Regions from separate parts of the Homo sapiens genome. Here regions 1 and 2 are each linked to region 3. Evidence: promoter capture Hi-C in 16 types of primary human blood cells and fetal thymus (Javierre and others, 2016). All regions are on one chromosome and are shown on one strand. The core of a region is centred on a gene start or on the middle of the fragment in contact, and the rest is flanking DNA. Distances in the headings are between cores, read along the strand shown. Region 1 holds the start of NAT14 (N-acetyltransferase 14 (putative)). Region 2 holds the start of SBK2 (SH3 domain binding kinase family member 2). Region 3 holds the start of LOC124904771 (a long non-coding RNA gene).

Region 1 (3,189 bases), core at 320-2,819, 270 kb before region 3:
TGCCCACGCCCCGGCGGCGGTGCCAGCGAGAGACAGACAGGCGGGTGACCCGGGCCCCGTCCCCTGCATTTGTGCCAGGGGCCAGAGCCAGGACCCCACACACGTCACCGGAGCCCCGCACGGCCACCCAGGGGCCCCCCAGGCCACCCGGCGGAGGCAGCGAGCCCCATCGGGCCCGCAGGCCCAGCTTCACGGCGGCCACAGCCAGGAACACCGGCAGGAGGAGGGCCAGGGCGAAGGAAGCCAGGACAAAGCGCAGGCCGCTGCTGGCCGCCGCCAGGAGGAGCAGGGCCGGCGGCCGTGTCAAGGCATGGAGGGCCACGCGGTTTTCCGTGTCCTTCACGCCGGCCTGTGGGCAGGAGGGGTGGCTCAGCCATCCGAAACGCTAGGGCCTCCTGGACAAAGAGAGGAGGTAGACCCTGCCCGGGGCGGGGTGAGAGCTCCCAAATGGGAAGGGAAGGCAGCACAGTCCGATGTTCAGTGTGGCACACTGGGTATGGAGTGAATGAATGAACGAGAGCGAATGATGGATGGATGAGTGAATTAGGAGCTGTGGGGGCACTCAATTCAGTAGCAATGCCGCAGTGAGGCCCCAGGGAAGTAAGGACAGGGAGGTTGCCTCAGGCTGGAGTGGAGGCTGGAGGGAGGCTGCTGGGCTAGGTTGGGGTGCTGGGCTGTGCTTTGAAGAGTTGGGGTCCGAGGCACAGAGCTGGCTGTTGTGCTGGCGTGCACAGCCGACTGGAGATGGGAGACCAGGGAGGGCGTTGGTGCTGGGGTCCCAGTAGGGCTGGGGGGGTGAGCCCCCACCTGCCACACCTGCTGTGGTTTTCAGCAGCAGGGCGGCTGAGGCTCAGGAGGAAAAGATCCCGCTCCAGGGGTCCAGGCTGGCTCAGGTGGGTGGGAGGGGGTGGCTGAATCCACTTGCAATTCCCCCACTGCAGCCACTCCCAGGCCCCCTGGGGCCCCTGCCTCTCACCTTCAGCATCTCCAGCACCAGGGGCTTCTCATCTTCCCTCATCTCCCGCACTGACAGGTGGCTGGGGGCCATGGCAACCCCCAGGCCCCGGCCCCCCAGAAGGGAGCTGGCGTCGTGCACCTGGTGAGAACATAAGTAGGTCAGCGTCAGGGGGGCACCTCTGTCCCCAAAGCTCCCCCGAGGGGTAGGGAGCAGCAACGGCACTTCCCAGATCAGGACACTGAGAACCCTCGGGGCCCCCAAGCGAGGATCTCGGCAGGACAGGCGCCCCCCACAATACTCAGCGACCTTGCTAAAGTCTCCCGGGATCCCCCCTCCCCCGTATTATTCAGCGATCTACACTCCCAAACGCGCTGCGGACGCCAACACTGCAGCACGGGGCTCCCTCCCAGGCACTGGGGTCCACGAACACCCTCCCCACATGCCAGAGAACGGACCACGCTCGCTCCACCCCGGTCCCCAGCGCCCCCTCCCCCACAGTCGTCCCCGTCCCGCGCCACAAGAACAAGGACCAGCAAGCACCTGCACCGGTCGCCTTTGGTCCTTCGACAAGGTTTCGGGAGCGGGTCTGGAAGGGGGTCGCGGGCGGAAGTGACGTCAGACCGCGCGCGGTGGGGCGGGGCGGCGCCCGCTCCGGGCCGTAGCAACCGTTGCTAAGCTCCCCGGAGGGCGGGCTGGGAGGAACCGAGCTGTGACCCTGCGGAGGGCCGGGAAGCGACCTCTCCTATCCCTAGAGAAGGAGCAACGGGGAAAGGGGACCTGGGGAAGAACGGGAGCGGAAGCCGGCAGGAGACGGGCGGCGGGCTGGGGACCAGCGCGAGCTCCCGCCCCACGTTCCCTCGTTGCTGAGCAACCTGAGCGCCGGGCGGCGACGCCAGCGCGTGGATTCTCATCCGTGCCGGGGCCTTCGCGGGAGGAGCCGGCCACGCTCAGCATCCTGGCGCCCGACTCCCCCATCCCCAGGGACCCCACTCCACCCACGGGGCGCCCGGGGTCGCAGAACCCTTCCGCATAAGGATCCCCCTACTTCTCACACGAGGGGGGCAGCGGGGCGACCTACAGTGAACAAGTAGCACTCCCTGGAGTCTGATGTCACCACCTCCCCACTATAATGACCCCTGCGGCCTTTTTTGGTTTCAGGACAGGGGAACTGAGCCCTACGTAGTGGCTGGCCCCAGGATGCAGAACAAGCCATCTGCGACCCAGGACGCAAGACTTAAGACTCCACGCTCCCAGGCGGGGGCTAGGACCATGACTTTGCCCCCTTCCCTCCCCCCAGGAAAACAAAACACAGGCGGGGAGACTCGGGTCTTTATTAGCAAGCCCAGCCTGCGGCACCCTGCCCCGCCCCGGCTGGCAGTGAGTCGGGGTCTCTGTGCGGGGCGGGAGGGGAATCACTGCCTCTCCTCAAAACGTGTGCACCAGCTGGACTGCGGGTAGAGTCTGGACAATCTGGATGGAGGGCAGGCCCTGAGGGGTCATAACACCAGGCCCAGCTCCTGCGGGGACCACTTGCACCATCTGGGAGGCTGGAGCCCCGGGGAGCCCCGCGGGGCCCGAGGCTGGGCCTGACGGCGGTGGGGCCAGGAGCTGCAGCGTGGCGGTGCCTCCTCCAGTGTTGCTGCTGTCCAGCAGCTCAGTGGCTGGGGCGCTGCGGATGATGAGGAGTTTCTGTCCGGGTGGGCCGGTGGCAGGCGGCTCCGTCAGCCCAGGAGGAAGTGTTTCTACCTCCTGTACGCAGAGTCGAGTCTGTTCGCCATCGGCCCCGCTCAGCACCAGCACGCTCTGCAAGCCCTCGTCCGTCTGGAGTGTCTCAAAGAGGACATCCTGGACCACACCAGTGCTGGCCTCGCCATCCCCCGCCTCCCCGGGGCCCGGGCCAGTGAGCAACTCCTCAGCTGCCCCGCTCTGAACAACCAGCAGGTTGGGTGCCTCAGTAGCCACAGCTCCCCCACTGGAATTGGAGAGCTGGCCGGCCACGGGCTGGAGCTGGACCGTGGTCACCTCCTGTGCTGGCTGGAGCTGGACCGTGGTTACTTCCTGTGCTGGCTGGAGCTGGACTGTGGTCACCTCCTGCGCTGGCTGGAGCTGGACCGTGGTTACTTCTGGGGCTGGTCGGAGGGGCTGGAGCTGCACCCCACTCATTTCCTGTGGCCCTGCCTCCCCACCCCCCACATTCTGCAGAACGATGAGGCTCTGCCCTGTCCCGCTGG
Region 2 (3,004 bases), core at 144-2,643, 320 kb before region 3:
TTCCGTCTCAAAAAGCAAAAAAAAAAAAAAAAAAAAGAAATAAAAAACCCTGAAGGGTGGGTGCAACCGTCCCAGAAAAAAACAGGGGTCTGAAGTCCCACTGTGGCCCAAGGCTTGGGGACTTCCTAGTGGGGCTTAATCTCCCTGTGCTTACAGCAGGGAGGCACTCACTGGCCTGTATTCCTGTTATGCGCTTTCAAACTATTTTTATTGTTATTCCTCTCTTTGGAATCAGGAGCCCTCAGGCCCTCCTCCCTCAGACCCAGGAGTCCAGGTCCTCAACCCCCTCCTCCCTCAGGCCCAGGAGTCCAGGTCCTCAACCCCCTCCACCCTCAGGCCCAGGAGTCCGGGTCCTCAACCCCCTCCTCCCTCAGACCTAGGAGTCCAGGTCCTCAACCCCCTCCTCCATCAGGCCCAGGAGTCCGGGTCCCGTGTAGAAAATGAAATCATTTCTGGAACCCACCCCTGCCTTGACCCCACCCAGCTGCCCCATCAATGCCCCATTGACAGGTCAGACACAAGTGCTTGGAGAGGGGTGTCCAGGGGATCAGATGCTGGGGTCTAGTTTGGGGAAAGAATGAGACAATGAGATTCCAGAACGATGCAGTGTGGGATGACCTCAGACTCAGAGGGGCGGGAAGCAGGTGCTGGAGCAACTGGGAAGAGAGGCCTTGAGGGGGTGGGGAGGCCTCAGTTCTGCCGGAAAACTTCAGATGGGTGGGGGAGGCTGAGGCCTGGACTCCTGGGTCTGAGGGAGGAGGGACTGGGGCCTGGACTCCTGGGTCTGAGGGAGGAGGGGCTGGGGCCTGGACTCCTGGGTCTGAGGGAGGAGGGGCTGGGGGTCTGGACTCCTAGGTCTGAGGGAGGAGGGGCTGGAGACCTGAATTCCTGGGTCTGAGGGAGGAGGGGCTGGAGACCTAGACTCCTGGGTCTGAGGGAGGAGGGGCTGGGGTCTAGACTCCTGGGTCTGAGGGAGGAGGCACTGGGGGACTGGATTCCTGGGTCTGAGGGAGGGAAAGCTGGGGGCCTGGATTCCTGGGTCTGAGGGAAGAAGAGCTGGGGGCCTGGACTCCTGGGTCTGAGGGAGGAGGGGCTGGGGCCTGGACTCCTGGGTCTGAGGGAGGAGGCACTGGGAGACTGGATTCCTGGGTCTGAGGGAGGAGGCGCTGGGGGCCTGGACTCCTGAGTCTGAGGGAGGAGGAGGGGCTGGGGCCTGGACTCCTGGGTCTGAAGGAGGAGGGCTCAACTCTTGGGTCAGGGTATTCACCTGACCACAGCCAGTTCCAGGAGTCATCACACGATGTCGCTCTGCTCCCAGTGGGGGCAGAAGGGGCGGGCCCAGGGGCGGGGCCTTACGACCCCCAAAGTCGGGGCGGGGTCTTGCTCCTAGGCAGGCCTCTGCTGGCATGAGCCCTAAGTGCCGGGCACTGACCACAGCCGGCGGCCGGAGGGTCAGGAGGGCCTTGGAGGAGGTGAGGTCTGGAGGTCTGAGCCCAGGTTGGGAGGTGGGCAAGGTGCCCTGGCCTGAGGTGGGCAGCACCTGAGGGTGACTGTACCAGGTGGCCCGAGTCCTCGGTCCCTCAGGGGAGCCTGGGCTGCACCTGGAGGCTGTAGAGCGGTGGAGGGTGAGGGAAACAGAATCAGGGGGTCCCCAGTTGTGTGAATTGTATGAGGTTCCGGGAGAGAGGTGGGCTGGGGGCCTGGACCCCTGGGCCTGGCGGAGGAGGGGCTGGGGGGCTGGGTCGGAGGGAGGTGGGTGGGCTGTGAAAGTGGGACCCCAGGCCTGTCAGGAGCTTGGGGACTGATCCCAAGTGCTCGGTCCCATGCAGGACCCAGGCGTCCCAGGCCCTCTGCACAGCCCGCCCTCCCAGCCCTGAGCCCAAGAGCACCTGTTTGTTCTCAGGAGACAGAGTCTACTCATCCACCCCCAGGGCCCAAGTCTGTTTGCTTTGGAAACAAGATGGGGGAGTCTCAGTTATCTGGTTCATCTTTCAACCTCAGGGTGGGCGGGTGGCGGCGGCGGCACGCGGGCAGGGACATCTGTGACCTGGGGCTTGAACTCACACCAGACTTGTCTCCCCACCTCTCACCAAGAGGGAGACTGAGTCACAATGAGAAGCGCGATGAGCCCCCAGCCCCTCCTCCCTCAGACCCAGGAGTCCAGACCCCCAGTCCCCTCCTCCCTTGGGCCTGGGACCTGAGCCTGGGCACCCCTCTCTGTTCTCGCAGAGATGCCCGGCAAACAGTCTGAGGAAGGGCCGGCGGAGGCAGGGGCTTCGGAGGACAGCGAGGAGGAGGGTCTGGGCGGCCTGACATTAGAGGAGCTCCAGCAGGGCCAGGAGGCTGCCCGCGCGCTGGAGGACATGATGACGCTGAGTGCTCAGACCCTGGTCCGAGCCGAGGTGGACGAGCTCTACGAGGAAGTGCGTCCCCTGGGCCAGGGTTGCTATGGCCGCGTCCTTCTGGTCACCCATCGTCAGAAAGGTACGAGGCTGTGGGGCCAGAGGTGGCAGGGTTCAGCTGGGGGCGGGGCACGGGCCTGGGGTAGCCCAGGCTGGGGAGGCTGGCAGGCCTGAATCAAGTCTTACCTCTGCCCTCCAAAGCTGTGTGTTTTTTGTTTTTTGTTCTTTTGGTTGGTTGGTTGTTTTTGAGACAGTCTGGCTCTGCCGCCCAGGCTGGAGTGCAGTGGCACAATCTCACTGCAACTTCCACCTCCCAGGTTCAAGTGTTCCTCCTGCCTCAGCCTCCCATGTAGCTAGGACTATAGGCATGCACTACCACACCCAGCTACATTTGTGTGTGTGTGTATTTTTCTTTCTTAGTAGAGATGAGGTTTCACTCTGTTGGCCAGGGTGGTCTCGTACTCCTGGCCTCCAGTGATCCGCCTGCCTCAGCCTCCCAATTGCTGGGATTACAGGCATGAGCCACGGTGCCCTGCCAAAAACTGTGTTTTGAGGAACTCCCTTGCCCTCTCTGAGTCTCAGCTTCCTCCTTTGGAAAATGT
Region 3 (3,393 bases), core at 826-3,325:
TGCAGGGACGGAGCCCCAGATGTGGCTGAGAAGGGGAAGAGGAAGGACCGTCGTGCCCTGGAGCCTGCGACCGCCACGCCCTTGTTCCAGCCTCAGCCTTCAACCCCCTACACAGACGCCCAGTGAGCACTACGTGCCGCACGCAGGACTGAGGGGTGGAGAGTGGGAGGCCATGGGTGTCAACGTAGGGTCCCTGGAGGTATTGATTCAGAGGGCAGTAGCCCCCGGGCAGGTCCTGGCTGGCCCCACCCAGGACCTCAGTCGCTGACCTCAGGACACGGTCCAGGCTCTTTCTATTCACGTCTGTGCGTGGCATCCTCCACGATACAAGCGAAAATCACCATTCCCCGCCTGCCTGGCGTTGGCAGCCAACCCCCAGGAGGCTCCCGGCCCTGGCTTCTCATTTCTCACCTCAGTGCGAGCATGGATCTAGGAGAACCCCAGCTCTCTTACAAGTTGATGAGTCAGGCCCCTGTCACTTCCTGGATCTTTCAATCCTGGCTGCCCGCAAGGCCAGGAAGAGCGAAAACAAGGGCTGGATTCAGCGGAAACACGGCAACACAGGACACAGCCACAGCGTGAGGAGCGAGCAAGCTGGAAAACCTGGATGGGGGTCTGGACTGGTTCACCTGCAATGAGATCAATGATCTAATCGCGGCAGGCGTGGTGGCTCATGCTTGTAATCCCAGCAGTTTGGGAGGCTGACGCGGGTGGATCACATGAAGTCAGGAGTTCGAGAACAGCGTAGTCAACATGGCAAAACCTCGTCTCTACTAAAAATACAAAAATTAGCCAGGCGTGGTGGCCAAGGCAGGAGAATCGCTTGAACCCAGGAGGCAGAGGTTGCAGTGAGCCGAGACGGTGCCACTGCACTCCAGCCTGGGTGACAGAATGAGATTCCATTTAAAAGAAAAAAAAAAATCTAATCCTGGATGAGAGTCCAGGGAAAGTGAGAGTGGAGAAAGCTTACATGAAAACGCAGACCAGATCCCTGAGTGTGGACCTGGAAAACGTGACACACGTCATCAGATTCAGATGAAGGGATATTGCCTGAAGTTTCATCAGCCTTCGGTGTGGAGTTGGCCTGATGTCCCCCAAGATGAATAGACTTGTCTCTACCCAAAGAAGCTTCTTCCACTCTGATAAAAGAAAGGAAAAATAGGCAAAGCCACAGACAATGTGATGAGTATTATAATAAGAGATTTGTTTAGTTTGGCTCCAAACATAGGAGGGAGTGGCCAACTGTATCTGGGGTCAACCAGAAGTAGAAAGAGAAGTAGGCCCTGGCTGGTGGAGAAATATTTTACCAGGCAGAGGGAACAGTGTGTGCAAAGGCCCTGAGGTTTGAATCCACCTGGAGTGCTAAGAAAAACATGCACGGACATCTGTGTAGCTGGAGTAAAGATAGGAGAAGAGGCTGGTGAGGTGGGCAGAGAGCAAATCTGAAAGAACTCCAATCTCAAGGTAAAGACATCATTCATTCATTCATTCCTTCATTCATTCAACAAATCACTGAGAAATTAATAAACACCTGTAAGTGTCCATTCCAGTGAGGATAAATTGCTATCCAGGAGTGAGGGGGAACAGCGTGATGTCTTATGGGTTGATAAGATGACCGAGGTCCCAGACAGTCTAAAGGGAATCACACTGACCTTCTGTCACTGTTGGAGTAAAGAACACTCTTCATTCAGGCTAACTTCTATAGGCAAAACGCCTTTTCCAGTTCATTAGCTGAATATCAGGTGCCAGGGGCTGTGCTGATTTGCTGAAGGAGACCTTACCCTGAGAAGACCAGCCACTTCCGAGGGTATCACCATTTTTTTTTTTTTTTTTTTGAGACGGAGTCTCGCTCTGTCTCCGAGGCTGGAGTGCAATGGCGCCATCTCTGCTCACTGCAAGCTCTGCCTCCCGGGTTCACGCCATTCTCCTGCCTCAGCCTCCCAAGTACCTGGGACTACAGGTGCCCACCACCACGCCCGGCTAATTTTTTGTATTTTTAGTAGAGACGGGGTTTCACCGTGGTCTTGATCTCCTGACCTCGTGATCCGCCCTCCTTGGCCTCCCAAAGTGCTGGGATCACAGCCGTGAGCCACTGAGCCCGGCCAGTATCACCATTTCTTACTTCTGTCTTCCAAGATCCATAAGCTCCTGCATAGATTAATCATGTGAATCAAAGGATAATGTTTAGGAATCACCCTCCCATATCCCACCCCTGTGTTTTCCAAGGCTTGATGCTGGCGCTGATCTCTGTGATTCCCTGGGTTGACTGTTTGGGAAGGATGATACTATGGTTTGGATCTGTGTCCCCACCAAATCTCATGTTGAAATGGAATCCCCAGTGTTGGAGGCCGGACTTGGTGGGAGGTGTTAGGATCTTGGGGATGGACCCCTCATGAATGGTTTAGTACCATCCCCATGGTGATGAGTGAGCTCACAAGAGATCTGGGTATTTTACAGTACGTGGCAAGGCCGGGCGCGGTGGCTCACACCTGTAATCTCAGCACTTTGGGAGGCCGAGGTGCATTGGATCGCCTGAGGTCAGGAGTTTGAGACCAGCCCGGACAACATGGCAAAACCCTATCTCTACTAAAAATACAAAAACTAGCTGGGAGTTGAACCCAGGAGGTGAAGGTTGCAGTGAGCCAAAATGGTGTCACTGCACTCCAGCCTGGGTGACAGAGGGAAACTCCATCTCAAAAATTTAATAATAATAAAATAAAAAAATAGAAGTGTGTGGCACCTCCCGTCCTCTCTCTCTTGCTCCTGCTTTCGACATGTTATGTGCCTGCTCCCTCTTCACCTTCCGCCATGAGTGGAAAAGCTCCCTGAGGCCTTCCCAGAAGCTGAGCAGATGCCAGCACCACGCTTCCTGTACAACCTGCAGAGCCGCGAGCCAATTAAAACTCTTTTCTTTATAAATTACCCAGTCTCAGGTATTTCTTTATAGCAATGAAAGACTGGCCCAATATAGATGGGGGAATTTCTAGGGGCTTCCATTTCTTCTTCCCACCATCAAAGCTTTCACACTACAGATCAGGGAAGCCAAAGCATTGTGTCTGCCATTTTATGAGAATGTCGATTTCAACTTCACTCTCAAGGCCTGAGGAAGGAGCCACACAGGGTCTTTAGAGTCCCGTTGACCCACTGTGTGATGGTCTTTAGGTGAACCCTCCGTTCGTTACCTGACAGCCCCAAGCACACCAGTCAGACCATGATTCACGGTGACCTGTGTGTGCCTCCAAATTAGGATTGATTCAGAGTCAGAGTCCAGTAGCCTTTTCTCTTTCTCTAATCCCCAGCGACCATGGATATTGGCCTTTAGGAGAAACTGGGAGGAAGGTTTACAGTATGTACTTTGACTAGTATCGGTGAGTCCTCCCTGAGGGAAAAGCA

What was found. Contacts are between HindIII fragments. The CHiCAGO score rates a contact against its expected background, and 5 or more counts as called.
Region 1: the fragment with the promoter of NAT14 here is called in contact with a fragment that was not itself captured in region 3 in 14 of 17 cell types (endothelial precursors, M2 macrophages, M1 macrophages and 11 more); the score reaches 10.7 in endothelial precursors.
Region 2: the fragment with the promoter of SBK2 here is called in contact with a fragment that was not itself captured in region 3 in 2 of 17 cell types (neutrophils and monocytes); the score reaches 6.4 in neutrophils.

The regions. Positions count from the first base shown.
Region 1 is chr19:55,483,568-55,486,756 of GRCh38, reverse strand. NAT14 (N-acetyltransferase 14 (putative)) reads right to left here and starts at 1,569. Exons shown (of 3, transcript NM_020378.4): 1 at 1,499-1,569; 2 at 977-1,096; 3 at 1-349. The coding sequence starts at 1,048. It overlaps ZNF628 (zinc finger protein 628), which reads right to left. Exons shown (of 3, transcript NM_033113.3): 3 at 2,270-3,189. The coding sequence ends at 2,384. RefSeq lists an enhancer at 930-1,259 and a silencer at 1,360-1,779. The HindIII fragment of the contact is 21,455 bases long and covers 1-3,189 here.
Region 2 is chr19:55,535,522-55,538,525 of GRCh38, reverse strand. It overlaps SBK2 (SH3 domain binding kinase family member 2), which reads left to right and starts at 1,393. Exons shown (of 4, transcript NM_001370096.2): 1 at 1,393-1,472; 2 at 2,230-2,484. The coding sequence starts at 2,232. RefSeq lists a silencer at 490-784. The HindIII fragment of the contact is 39,425 bases long and covers 1-3,004 here.
Region 3 is chr19:55,213,728-55,217,120 of GRCh38, reverse strand. LOC124904771 (a long non-coding RNA gene) reads right to left here and starts at 1,532. Exons shown (of 2, transcript XR_007067346.1): 1 at 412-1,532; 2 at 1-25. The HindIII fragment of the contact is 1,890 bases long and covers 1,131-3,020 here.